2 separate regions of the Homo sapiens genome follow, and region 1 is linked to region 2. Evidence: promoter capture Hi-C in 16 types of primary human blood cells and fetal thymus (Javierre and others, 2016). All regions are on one chromosome and are shown on one strand. The core of a region is centred on a gene start or on the middle of the fragment in contact, and the rest is flanking DNA. Distances in the headings are between cores, read along the strand shown.

The links. The method cuts DNA at HindIII sites, captures the fragments that hold promoters and counts their contacts. A CHiCAGO score of 5 or more calls a contact.
Region 1: a contact is called between a fragment that was not itself captured here and the fragment with the promoter of TOM1 in region 2, in 1 of 17 cell types (neutrophils). The highest score is 6.3, in neutrophils.

What each region holds. Positions count from the first base shown.
Region 1 is chr22:26,668,219-26,671,402 of GRCh38, reverse strand. MIAT (myocardial infarction associated transcript) reads right to left here. Exons shown (of 5, transcript NR_033320.3): 5 at 1-3,184. Among named protein-coding and RNA genes, the nearest start is that of MIATNB, 3.0 kb to the left of the region's middle. RefSeq lists enhancers at 2,244-2,826, 2,827-3,184. The HindIII fragment of the contact is 9,187 bases long and covers 1-3,184 here.
Region 2 is chr22:35,298,198-35,301,378 of GRCh38, reverse strand. TOM1 (target of myb1 membrane trafficking protein) reads right to left here and starts at 1,485. Exons shown (of 15, transcript NM_005488.3): 1 at 1,399-1,485. The coding sequence starts at 1,450. RefSeq lists enhancers at 1-341, 752-911, 865-1,387, 1,312-1,461, 1,388-1,910. The HindIII fragment of the contact is 3,434 bases long and covers 1-3,172 here.

The DNA of each region.
Region 1 (3,184 bases), core at 628-3,127, 8.6 Mb after region 2:
CAACACTGCCCCGGCCCCTCCAGCTGCAGCTTCAGAGGCCTCCCGCCCCCACCAGCCAGGGAGTGGGGCCTGACCAGGGCAGGGGGTCTAACTCTAAGCCCCCCAGCCCCATCAAAATCAACCCTAACCACATGGACCCTGCCCAAAAGCATGTTGCTTCCCTATTTATTGGCTGTGGGTCTCAGAGCACCCCCTGCAAATATTTCAGCTCCCCTGAAAATGGACCCTACTTGTCCTAGACAGAAACCCCCTGCCTGGTTCTGGTCAGCCCCTTCCCAGAGGGCTGGATCCTGTTACACTCTGACAGACACACGCACACCCGCATCTCTCCGCAAAAGATCTGACAACCGTGCTTAGTAGACATCTCTTCCATCACCGACTGTCAGGCCTCTAGTTTCTCCAACTATTGGCCTGCCCTCCCACCATTAGAAAAAAAAAAAACGCATCAAGCTGGCCTGGCTCCTGGAACCAAGTTGAGACTCCCCCACGCCCACCCGGTCTGCTTCCTTTTCAGCCAATGCTACAAAGCACCTAAGTGTACCCTAATTATGCCATCTTCTATCACTGCTGTACTTTTCCCATAGAAACCCCAGCCTAGCATCTCCCACAGTTCTAAACGATGTTCCATGAGAAAAAGATTCTACGGCCATAAAAGTCAAGGAACACTTCATCCTATGCCCTGTCCCTGAGTATTTGAAATTGCCATTAGCATTTTAAAGGTTCTGATAAGTCCTGCACTACTTCAGTAGTGCAGCGGAATTTGAATTAGAACCTGCTTTTTTTTTTTTTTTTTTTTTTTTAAGGAGCAATGACATTTCCTAGAAGTTACTTTAAGAATTTCCCTAGAGGGTCGGGTATCATCTCAGCCAGATCTTTCTCATCCTTCAAGGCCCTGTTTGGTACAGCTTGCTAGGAAGCTGTTCCAGACTGCAGCAGCCCTCTCTGGGGTCTCTCTACCACTTCCCAGGCACTCAGAACTTGTGCCTCAGTAGACTGTTTTGTGGCACTGTCCCATTCTCTGATTCTCCATGTGAGCTGGTTTTATCCCATCCAGCATGGCTGTGAAATCCTAAAGGTTCAAACCCCAGCCACTCTTCACCTATATTTCCCCCAAATGGCTAGCACGGGAAAGGGCCCAAAGTAGGTGCTCAGTGCTGATGAGAGAGTAGAATTTAAATACCCCAGGAAGCATTGTGAGTTACTACGGAGGCCATGAAATGCTGCCACCTCCCCAAGCTGATTAAAGAGTGATACTAGGAAAATAGGTAGGGAAGGGCTAATCAGAAATGCCTCTGGTTCAGAAGATGCTGAGTTTTAAAGTCCAGAGAGCCAAAAAAAAAAAAAAATAGATAAACCCTAAGTCTATACTCCCAGATGGATGGGAGCATTTGCTGAGCACCTACTGGGAGTCAGGCACTGTGCTAGGCACACAATCTCACTGAATTCTCCCTGCACCTGACAGGCAAGCACATTCCTTCCATTTCACAGAGCATCGGAGGCTCAGAGGTGAAGTAACTTGCCCAGGGTTGTAGCCCAGGCCCTTCTCAGGACACGGCTCTCCCAGGGCCTCCGCCTCCCTGCACTGAGCCCTGCCAGTTCCATATGTCCTCCGAAGCACTCCTGAGCCACCCCAGCATGGTACCTGCCACTCTCCGTGTCTGCTTCCCATACCTCTCTGCTCCTCCTCCCCATCCCTGGGTGGGGGCGGGAATTCTGAAGGGGAGAAGGCTCTGACTTTCCATGTTTGCGGTGACCACCCTGTTAAGAACTGAATGGTGTCCCCTCCCCCAAATGCATATGTTGAAGCAGTAGCCTGCTATGTGACTGTTTTTGGAGATGGGACCTTTAAGGGGTTAAGGTTAAATGAGGTCATAGGTTTAAGCCCTAATATGGTGATATTAGTGTCTTTATAAGAAGAGGAGGAGACACCAGAGCCTGCTCATGCTCTCTGTCCCTCTCCACAGAGAAAAGGCCATGTGAGGACATAGTGAGAAGGTGCCACCTGCAAGCCAAGGAGAGAGGCCTCACCAGAAACCAAGTCTTAACACCTTGATCTGGACTTTCCAGCCTCCAGAACTGGCAGAAAATAAATTCCTGATGTTTAAGCCATCCAGTCTGGCATGGTGCTGTGGCAGCCCAAGCTGATGAATAGTACACACCACTCCGCATTCTGGGAAAAAGGACATCTGGCTTTTAAACTTGCCTAAGGGAGGCCACAAGCTGCTCTCTTGCAAACGCTGGGACTGTCTCCTCTGGAGGGAGCTGGAATTGCAGATTGTGGGGCCTGTCCTGCCACCTTCTGTTCCCCAAGAACAGAATCCAGGAGCAGTGCAACTAGAAGCAGCGATCTGATTGGAGAAGAGTGTCCTGAGACTGGGCTAAGGTGACCCCTTAAGCCTTTGGGTAAGACTGGTTCCCTTTGGATGGCAGGAAAAAAAACCCAGGGCCACCTGTCTCTTTCTAGTGAATTTCCCTAGCCTAAATCTTATCTCTTAAAGACCCTCTCTTTTCAGGATGGTGCACTCTCAGCCCCTCTGGCTGCCCCTCCCAGAGTTCAACAGCACAGGGGGAAGGCTCCAGCTCCTCCCAGATCCTGACTGTCTCCTCTTTGTAACCATCAGGGAGAGGAAAAGCATGGAAAAGCCCCACCAAGGAAGTCCCCCACAAAATGACAATTACGCACTGAGCAAATGGAGACAAAGGACTCCAGCCAGCGGCACCCGAGGAGCTGCATCTGCCCTCTGCCTGACAGCCCCTCCCCGACTCCCATCCTTGTTCCTGTCCCCATCCTGTAGGGTCCTTTGAGACCCAGCCTTGGGGAAAGTGTGGTCAGTGGGGACTTGGCCCAGGCCAGGCTCTGTCTGGTCACCGGCAGAAACGCGAGGAGGAATCAAGTTCACATGGGGCAGGAAAGGGCCCCCAGACCCAGACAATAGGGCCCAGCAGGCAGGGCCCGAGCAGGTGAGGAGGGAGTAGTGGGCTGCCAGGCCTCCCTCATACCCCTGGAGCTGTCCTCCAGAGCCAGATCAGTCATCTGCTGAGCATCAACCAGGAAGAGTTCCTATCCATGGGAGGCTCCATCCCAACAGGTGTGAAGAGGATGAGATCTTCAGGGAGTCACCCAGCGGGCTAGAAAACCACCGGAGTCTGACCGCTAAGTCACTGTGGCCAGAATCCAAGGTCA
Region 2 (3,181 bases), core at 236-2,735:
GGGATTCCTAACCTTCACTTGGTGATCTCAGGAACAACGTGTGTGTGTAAATACATATAATATATATGTATGTGTATGTATATGTATGTTTGTATGTGTATATTTTTATATATATGTGTGCGTGTGTGTGTGTGTATGTGTATGTGTTTCAAGAGATGGGCTCTCCCTGCGTCGTCCAGGCTGGAGTACAGTGGCGCCATCAGGGCTCACTGCAGCCCTGACCTCCCAGATCCAATAAATCCTCCCAGCTCTGCCTACCGAGTGGCTGGGTGCACAGGCACGCACCACCACGCCCGGCTAATTTCTGTATTTTTTTTTTTTTTTTTTTTTGTAGAGACGGGGTCTCGCCATGTTGCCCAGGCTGGTCTCGAACTCCTGGGCTCAAGCGATCTGCCCGCCTTGGCCTCCCAAAGTGCTGGGATTACAGGCGGGAGCCACCGTGCCCAGCCCAGTGATAATAAATATTACAACTGTTTTTTTTTATATGGCACTGGCCATGTACCAGGCATTGTTCTAAGTATTTCACATTTATTAAGGAATTTAATCTTCACAACAAGCCCACGGAGGTGGGGACCATTATTGCCCGCCAACTACAGGTGAGGAAACCTCGGCCCAGGGAGGCTGCGTCACAGAACTGTGAGTATCCTGTCACCAGGGTGCAGAGAACCACGGACCAGCAGACAGGCGCCAGGTGCCCTGGGCTTGGCTTGGCCCGAGTTCCCGGCTGCCCCACCTACGGAGCACCGAGATGGGCTGACCAGGAGGGTTTGTCCGACCACTGTCTGCTCAGGTTCTGAGAGTCTGTGCGGGTCCATTTGAGGTTGGGTCGAGAAAAGAGCCCAGGCGGACACGTCCTGAGACCCGGGTCTGTGAGGCCTGGCCGCGGGCTGTCCGGCGCTGGGCCCCTCTGGCCAGTTGGCCCCAAGACGCCAAGCCCGGGGCTTCGCGGTCCTGGGAGAAGGGACTTCTAGCCCTTCTCAGGTGTCTGTGTCCGGAGGGCCCGGTGAGCCAGGAAGGAGCTGGCCAGAGCCCAGGCGGCGGGACCCAGCAGAGTGGCCCAGCCACTGCCAACCACGCAGTCCCTTTAACCACGAAAACTTTCTCCCTCGATTGGGGACCCCAGCAGACGCACATTGGCTGCGCCGTGGGCATCCGGACCCACCCTCTCTCCTTACCTACTGGCTGTCATATACATCTATCACAAGCCAAGGCTTCCTAATGGCCCAAGTTCTTGTCAATCAAGAGTGGGAGGAAAGCTGGGCGGAGCCAGGTCGGAGAGCTACACGCCAGCCTCCTTGCCCTCCCTGCCTCCGTGACTAGGCACCCGGAGGCTTCCCAGGGGACCGAAGCTGGGTGCGGAGCACCGGGGCGGAGCTGTGGGGGGCTCCAGGGACTCACCGATGCGCTGTCCCACTGGAGAGCTGAACGGGTTCCCCAGGAGAAAGTCCATTGCTGCTACCGCCGCTGCCACCAACCCCGGGAATCAGCTGACAGCAACCGCCAGCGCCACCGACCCGTCACGTGACGCACTCGGAGGCCGGCGAGGAGGCGTGGGCGGGGCGGTGGCACCGCGAAGCTCGACCACAAGCCCCGCCCTGAGACGCCAGGGTCCCGCCCCCGAGGCGGAGGGCGATGACCTCACTGCGGCTTGCTCGGCGGCGGCGGGCGTCACACACGATGTAGGGTCTGGGGTCGGGGCCCGGGAAGCGCGGTCCTCTTTAAGCCACGCCCCTGACCTTTTAGGGCGAGGTCTAAAGGACCCTTTACACATTTGGGAAACTGGGTCGTAGACCAGGGAAGTGACTTGGGTGAGTTACACAGAAGCCGAGACTCTTAGGGTCATAGCCCTTAGTCCTTGGGACCTCACTGTGACTGCACACCTACCCTGGGTGACAGCCTCTCTGGGCTGTTGTCTCCTTGTCCCGGTAAGACTCTTCCTGTTTGATGTCAAGGTCTCCCCGCTCCAAGATGCACCCTGCTCGCAGCCCAAATTATCTTACCTTAAATCAGAGGCAAGGGCAAGGGGTTTGTCATCTGTTGAGACTGAGAGGCAATTTAATGAATTGCAGCGCAATTCCCTCTAGCGCCCAGGATGGCAAAAAGCACAGATGTAGTCACGAGTGGGGCTTTAATACCCGTCTCTGCCATAAATTTACTGTGTGAGCCAAACATAGCTCCCATTTTCTCTAGATACTGGAATTAGATCAAGGACTCGTAACCATTTTTAAAAAATATTTTATTTAGGTCACAGTCTCCTTTGAGAATTTGACAAAAGCCATGAGCCTTTCTGAAGAAAAAAGGCAGCGATACAATTTTGCTTATAACCTCAGGGAGTTTCTGGGGTCCCTGAAGTACAACCGTGGACCCCAAGCTAAGAATCTCAAAGGCCTTTCCCAGCGTTGTGATTCTAATCTCTTCAGCCTTCCTGGCTGTGTGTGGTGTGTCTGCTGACACCTACACACTAGATACCTATCTATGGGTTATGACCTTTTCTTCTGGCATGTACTCCAAAAATACAATAACCATGGCCTTAGTAGTCTGGCTACTGTGGGTGCTTAAGTACTTATTGTGATGTTTGTGGTTTTTAAATCTGAAAGGCTAGTAAATTGACTGCACAAATTTTGGATGACAGAAAACCTAAATTAAGCAAGGTGTGGTGGCTCACGCCTGTAATCCCAACATTTTGGGAGGCTGAGGCAGGTGGATCACCTGAGGTCAGGCATTCAAAACAAGCCTAGCCAACATGGTAAAATGCCGTCTCTACTAAAAATACAAAAATTAGCCAGGTGTGGTGGTACACGCCTGTAGTCCCAGCTACTTGGGAGGCTGAGGCATGAGAATTGCTTGGACCCAGGGGGGCAGAGATTGCAGTGAGCTGAGATCGTGCCACTGCACTCCAGCCTGGGTGACAGAGTAAGGCTGTGTCTTAAAAAAAAAAACAAACCTAAATTAGAACTTAATCACCTCTGTAGATTCACTTGTTTGAGCAGCCATGGGGTCCGATGTCTTTACTGTACAATATAAAAACTGCTTTGAAGTGTTTCCACAACACTCATGAGACCTGTTCACAAATGCCTTTGCCCCCACGAGTCTGGATGTCCCTGGGGGCTGGGCTACTATTTCTGTTTTGCTCCCCACTATTGTCTAACCCAGTAACTAGCACATGAAAGCTTAAATAGAT